2 separate regions of the Homo sapiens genome follow, and region 2 is linked to region 1. Evidence: promoter capture Hi-C in 16 types of primary human blood cells and fetal thymus (Javierre and others, 2016). All regions are on one chromosome and are shown on one strand. The core of a region is centred on a gene start or on the middle of the fragment in contact, and the rest is flanking DNA. Distances in the headings are between cores, read along the strand shown.

What was found. Contacts are between HindIII fragments. The CHiCAGO score rates a contact against its expected background, and 5 or more counts as called.
Region 2: the fragment with the promoter of SOX8 here is called in contact with the fragment with the promoter of CACNA1H in region 1 in 1 of 17 cell types (erythroblasts); the score reaches 6.6 in erythroblasts.

Annotation. Positions count from the first base shown.
Region 1 is chr16:1,151,757-1,154,833 of GRCh38, reverse strand. It overlaps CACNA1H (calcium voltage-gated channel subunit alpha1 H), which reads right to left and starts at 1,728. Exons shown (of 35, transcript NM_021098.3): 1 at 1,364-1,728; 2 at 798-1,114. The coding sequence starts at 1,096. RefSeq lists enhancers at 107-874, 2,249-2,829. The HindIII fragment of the contact is 9,021 bases long and covers 1-3,077 here.
Region 2 is chr16:980,519-983,705 of GRCh38, reverse strand. It overlaps SOX8 (SRY-box transcription factor 8), which reads right to left and starts at 1,936. Exons shown (of 3, transcript NM_014587.5): 1 at 1,362-1,936. The coding sequence starts at 1,783. It overlaps CEROX1 (cytoplasmic endogenous regulator of oxidative phosphorylation 1), which reads left to right and starts at 2,093. Exons shown (of 3, transcript NR_164343.1): 1 at 2,093-3,187. It also overlaps a transcript of LMF1 not described here. The HindIII fragment of the contact is 6,393 bases long and covers 1-3,187 here.

The DNA of each region.
Region 1 (3,077 bases), core at 479-2,978:
CTCCGTGTACATCCCACAAATGCCCCTGGCCCTGACCCAACTCTGTTCTGGAACCTTCTCTGCAGTCTGTGCCGCTCTGGCCGAGAGTAGAAGAGGCTGCCTCTTCCTCTCCAGCCAGGGAAGGGGCTGGGGAGATGAGACTCCCCCTTGGCAGTGCCAATTGCCTCCCTGCCCCCTACCCTTCAGCTGCGCATGACTTAAGTCAGCCCCGCCACCGAGTTCAGCCAGAAAAAGCGAGTTCACAACCAACGTCACCGCCTCTCTCCACGGAAAAGGCCCTGGCGGCGCTCACAGGCCCCACGGGTCTCCCCACGCACTCGGAACCACCAGGCGCCGGCTGAAAACTTTGCGCCCCTGACTCCAGCTCCTCTGGCCTCCCCCTCCCCCGCGAGGGGCCTGCCTCGGGCAGGACCTTCAGACAGTGAGGGGTGGGCAAGGGGGAAATTCCCGTCCTGGCCAACACCCTTGGGGCCGCGAGGAGTTAGGACCTTCCCTCCCTCCCCGACTCCTCTCCCCTCCAAGCCCGCGGGGGCCTCACCGCTTCGCTTCCACCTTCTCCGTCCGGAGCCGGCCCTGGGGAAGGGAGTCCGGAGGCGCCCGGTGGCCCCCCAAGCCCGCCACTCTCAGAAATTAGAGCGCGGTCCTCCAGCCCCTGCCCTGCACCCCCGCGCGCCCGGCCCACGCCAGGTCCCACCAACAGGGGCGCGCGGGGGCGCATGCCGAGGGAGTCCCGCGCCCCGGGCCCCCACCCTCCCCACGCCCCCCGCCCCCCGCCCCCCGCCGGCCGGGAAGGATATGGGTTGCAGACCAGCCGGAGGCACCAGCTGCGCGGCCGCGTGGTCTGACCGAGGCAGAAGAAGACCGTGGCCGCCAAGGCCGGGTACGGGACGCGCTGCTCCTCGTCGGCACCCAGCTCCGCGCCGCGCTCGGCCGCCGGGCTCTCGGAGGGTGACACGCCGAGCTCGGACCCCCGCTCCGCCTCGCGTCCCGGCGCCCCGGGGCTCTCCGGGGACGCCCCCACCAACGCCGCAGGGCCAGGGGGCGGCGCGCCCAGGGGCACCCGGACCTCGTCGGCGGCCCGTGCGCCCTCGGTCATGGTGGCGGCCGGCAGCACCTGCAGAGGACAGGGGGTGACCCGGGGCCGGTGGCGACGCCCCCGCCCTGCCTCCCGCGGCGCGGAGCTGCGGGAACAGCCGCGGCCGCCGGGATGTCTTTGTCTTTTCTTATTAGAGACAAACGCGCCCCCCGCCCCCGCCCGCCCCCTCCCTCCCTCCAGCGGCCCCACCCCCACCCCGAGGGGCTCCCCGGCCCGCTTCGCGCAAGTTGAAGAGGGTCCCGGGCGCGCGTCCTCGCCGCGTCTCACCTCGCTCTGCTGGCCGGCGGCGTCCCCGCGGGCATCGCCCGGGCGGCGCGGTCACCGCGGACCCCGCTCGGCGCCCGGCCCCGGCCCCGGCCCCCAGCGCCTCCGCCCCCGGCCCCGGCCCCGGCCCCCAGCGCCTCCGCCCCCGGCCCGCGTCCCCAGCCCGCCCGGCTCCCGGCCGCGGCTCGACTCCGGCTCCGGCTCGCCCGGCGGAGGCGACGGCGGCGGCCTCGGCGCGGCGTGGAGGCCGCTGAGCGGACGGGTGAGGCCGGGGCGCGGGGCGCGGGGCGCGGGGCGCGGGCCGGGGACCGGTGAGGCAGCGAGCGAGCCTCGAGCCCGTCCGCGCGCGGCGCAGGAAACTTCGGGCTGAGCGGCGGGGGGCGGGGCGGGGCGGGGCCGGCGCGACCGGGGCGGGGCCAGCGTGGCCGGGGCGGGGCCGGGGGCGGGGCGGGCGGGGGGGTACTGGGGAGGATCCGCCCCCGGCCCGAGACGCGCGCGCCCGAGCGACCCCTCCCTGTCGCCGCCCGGCGCCCCGCCCCCCCCCGGGTGCGGGAAGTTGGACCCCGCCCGCGCCCCCTCCACGCCCCCGCACTGGGCTCCCCGCTTTTCGTGCTCCCCAACAATGCCGGGCGTGGGGTGCACCAGGGGGCGCTCGCGGGAGGCTCCGGCGGGGTGGGAGGGGGAGCACCTACGTCCTTCCCTGCCCCCAACTGCGGGGGCGGCCGAGCCGCCGATGCCGCGCCCCTCCCCCTCCCGCTCCGGCTCCCCCTCCCCCTTCGCGCTGCCGCGCGCGCCGCCGCCGCCCCCACCCCCACCCCCACTACGACGCGGGCCCGGGTCGGCGGAGGGGCGGGGACCGGGCGGGCGTGGAAGGCGAGAGGCTGCGTGCCCCTTCCCCGCCGCGTGTGTGTCCCGGGTGTGCCCGCGCGCGCGTGTGTGATGGGGCGCGGGGGCGGGCGGGGGTGTGCTTTACGGCTGGGCGCTCCTGCACTCGCATCTCTCCCCGACACGCACGGGCAGTTTCCGCGAACTTGTCCTCGTCTCCGGTCCCCTCCCGCGTGGGGATCTGGGGGACCCTGGGGACGGCAGCCTGGTGCTCCTGCATCCTCCAACCCCGCTGCCTCAGCGAGACTCACCCAGGGGCCCCCGAGGAGAAGTGCAGGCCCCTTCCCCCTGCCAGCAGCTGCTCCTTCAGCCAGGCCAGCAGAAGGGCCTTCCCCTGGACCCTCAGAGCAAGTGGTTTGGTCGGGAAGGGGTGGACCCTTCAGACATTGGGGATGGCCAGGCCCTTGTCCCAGGGAGGGCTGGCCGCACCTCGAGGTGCCAGCAGGTGGGGGCAGGTGCCCAGGCTCCTGACTCCCCCCAGGGCACCCCTCCAGGCTGGAAGGGTGGTTTTGCTTCTGGGACCACTGCTTTGTGCACCAGGGAGCTTGAGCTCCCAGGTGTGCACCTCAGCACGCCCGCCAACAAGGGGCCCCTGGTAGTGGGAGAGACCCCTTCTCCCTCCAGACAAAGAGGCCCTGCTCCAGGGCGCACCCTGAGACCCCAGACCCGGAGAGGCTGTGGGGCGGCTGTGGCTTCCCACCTGCGGGTGAGCAGCAGAGAAGCAGGACCTCCCCCGGGTGGGCCACATCGTGCAGGGTGAAGAAGAGGCCCTGCCCAGCTGGGGCCCGGAAGGACACACAGCACCTGGGGTGGGCCGAGGAACTGGAAGGCA
Region 2 (3,187 bases), core at 687-3,186, 170 kb after region 1:
GGATGGCCAGGGCGCCCACTGTGCCCTCGGCGCAGGCACACACCACAGGGGGAACCGGCAGCAGAGGCCGGGGCCAGGAGGCTCTGACCAGGGAAACCCGCCTGCCGTGCGCTCCGGAGCCTCCCGTGGCACCAGGCAGTACACTCCTCTGGGAGAACCGGCCGGCGCCTGTTTGGGAAGGTTGGTATGCTTACGACAGCCAAAGAAGAACAAGCCCCACGCCTCCCATCTTCCTCCTTCTATTTCCCCCTATTCCGGGCCTGCTGTTCCCTCCCTCTGGGGCTTTCTAAGGGAGGCGGGGGAGGCGGGCAGGACCCAGCCGGCGGTGGACAAAAGCGAGGCTTCCCGGGAACGGTGCCGGCCTTCGGCGGGCAGCTGGGCTGCTGTCCCTCCATTCCCAGACACCCAGAAGCCCTGGCAGGGCCCAGGCGCCCGTCCTCACTGAGCCACAGGACACACTCCTTGGGACTCTTCCCGAGGCTCACCTCCAACCGCCTGTGCGGCAGGACTTGGGGGAGCAGGGGCCTGCCGTCCACAGCGCCCCGTGGCTGCGCCCTAGATCCAGACAGAAGGCAGGAGGTGCAAATACGCAAGCTCCAAGCTCCCTTCTTCCAGGTGAGGAGCAGGATACGGGAACCAGAGCCCCAAACCAAGAGAACCATTTGAAACCCAACCAGAGGACACTCGGTGGGGGCGGCCTGTCCTGAGCAACAAGTTCTTCACTCTGCAGTCCTAATTTCTGGAAAACTGACCGGCCCCACCACGCCAAGGCGTGCACACGGCGCACCCCGTCATCTCCACTCCTGCCCTCCCTGCTTCGGACCGAGGGTGTCCAGGAGAGGGAGAAACTGCGGGGAGGGTACTCGCAGGCAAACCTGCTGCCCACCCATCCGCCTGCCGCACTCCCTCCCCATGGGTGGTCCAGGAGCTAGAGGAGCTGAGCCCTTTCTAAGGAGGGAGCACCTCCAGAGAGCCGCATGCAACTTGCTGTCGTGCCGGGCGTGCCTCCCGGGGCTGGGGCCACTCGCAACGGCTGGAGGGCACGTCGGGGTGCCAGCCATGGCCCTCCGCAGGGTGTTCCCCGCCAGGAGAACTGGCTCCAGAGCGCACCCGCCACGAGGGTGCACACCCCAGGCGCTGCCCTCCGCGGATCCCGACTCCCATAGCTGGCGCCGGACCCCGGCTGGCCAGAGGATGTTTTTCCACTGGGACCCGCCCTGACACCCGCCCGGGGTGCAGAGCCCGGAGCCTGCGTGTGGCCACCACCTCCGCGAGCTCTGCGCCCTCCAGGCCCCCGCTCGCAGTCCGAGACCAGGGGCGGCCAAGGTCCCGAACCCCGCCCCCGGGGCGCCGGCACTCACCGCCACAGCTTGCCCAGCGTCTTGCTGAGCTCGGCGTTGTGCAGGTGCGGGTACTGGTCGGCCAGCTTGCGGCGCGCCGCCTGCGCCCACACCATGAATGCGTTCATGGGCCGCTTCACATGCGGCTTGGCTTTGAGCGCGCCGCCGCCGCCGCCGCGCACCGGCATGGGCACCAGACTCCAGTCGTAGCCCTTGAGCACCTGCGACACGGCGTCGCGGATGCAGGCCGGGAAGCGCTCGTCCGCCGCCTCCGCCGGGTCGCCCCGGGCGCCCCCCACCGCGACCCCCGCGCGGCCCAGGCCCTCGGAGCCGGCGGGAGACGGCGGCGCGTCCGAGTCCGAGTCCTCCACGTGCGACATGGAGCTGGCGGTGCCGGACGGGCTGCAGGGCGGCTGGGAGCGGGCCTCGCTCATGTCCAGCATCGGGGCCGCGCGCGGAGGGGCGCGCACAGGAGACGCGCACCGGGGCCGGCGCCCGGGGCTGCCCTGCGGTCGCTCCGGGACCCGAGGTCGCCGCGCGGTGGCCCCGACCCTCGCCCCTGCCGCCGCCGCCGCCGCCGCCGAGGCTCGGGTCCCGCTGCGGGACCCGCAACAAGTTTCTTTAAGCGGCGGCCCCGCGGCCCCGCCCCGCGCCCGGCTACCCATTGGCGGAGCGCGCCCCGATCCCCCGGAGGCGGAGCCCGGCCGCCCCCGCCCCCCCACCCATAAAGAAAGCTCCGCGGCTCTCGCCGCGCCCCCGCCTGCCCCGCCCGGCGCCGCACCACGTGGGCCAGGCGCCCCACGCCTGGAGCTCCCCTCTCTGGAGCCCCGGGAAAGGAAGCGGGGCAGGGAGGCCGGGTGGGAGCAGGGGGGTCTCCGGCGCTTCCTCTCCTCTGCGGGCGCCGCGCGGCTCCTGAGAGTCCGCCCCCCGTCCTGACGCTCAGCTAGGAAGCGGGTCCTCGGGCCCCTCCCCCGACACACACACACACACACACACACACACACACACACACACACACTCTCTCTCTCTCTCTCTCTCTCTCTCTCTCTCTCTCTCTCTCTCACACACACACACACACACACAGCCCGTCTCGCGCCTGAGGTCTCGCCCGCAGGCCGGTGGCGCGGGGTCAGCTGCTGCCTGCGGTCCAGGACAGGGTCGGTTCCGCCGCGCAGCGCCCAGGCCCAGCTCGTCCAGAGTCTGCGGACAGCGCACGTCCAGGTAACGCGCTTCAAGGGGCCGCGGCTCGGAGCTGGGGGACCCCGGGCCGCCCTGCCCATACGAGTGCGAGCGTGGAGAGCGCGGGCGGGGGCGCGGTCCCGGGGGCCGGCCAGCTGGAGGGGGCGGGAGCGCTGGGCGGGGCCTGCGCTGACCCCGGCGCTGAGTCCCTGGGGCCGCCGGGCGGATGGCGTGGCCGGACGCGGGGGCCCCGGGCCTTCCGGGCGTGACCTAGGGCTCGGGGGCGGGGAGGCCCCTCCGGCGGGGCGGCCCTGGGTGGTCCGGCAGAGGCGGAGGCCGCTCCGAGCCTGTGAGCCCTGGGCGCCTGCGGAGGCGGGGAGAGGGCGGGGTGTGCCGCCCTGGTGGGGACCGCGGGGTCGGAGAGGGGACATTGCCCCCCCCGAGGCGAACGTCCAACCGCGGGTCCGGGTCCCCGCCCAAGGCCGCCCCGCGAGGTGGCCTCGGCCCGGCCGTCCCCGAGGGTGGCTCGGATCCTTTCAACCAGCGCGCTGGAGGCGAAGGGGCTGCGCCATTCCGGGTCAGGCAGCCAACGCGGGACACGCGCGTCTCCGAGCTTGCGGCCCGCGAAACCCGGGTGACCTACCGCGCCGGTGCCCTCAAAGCCCCCA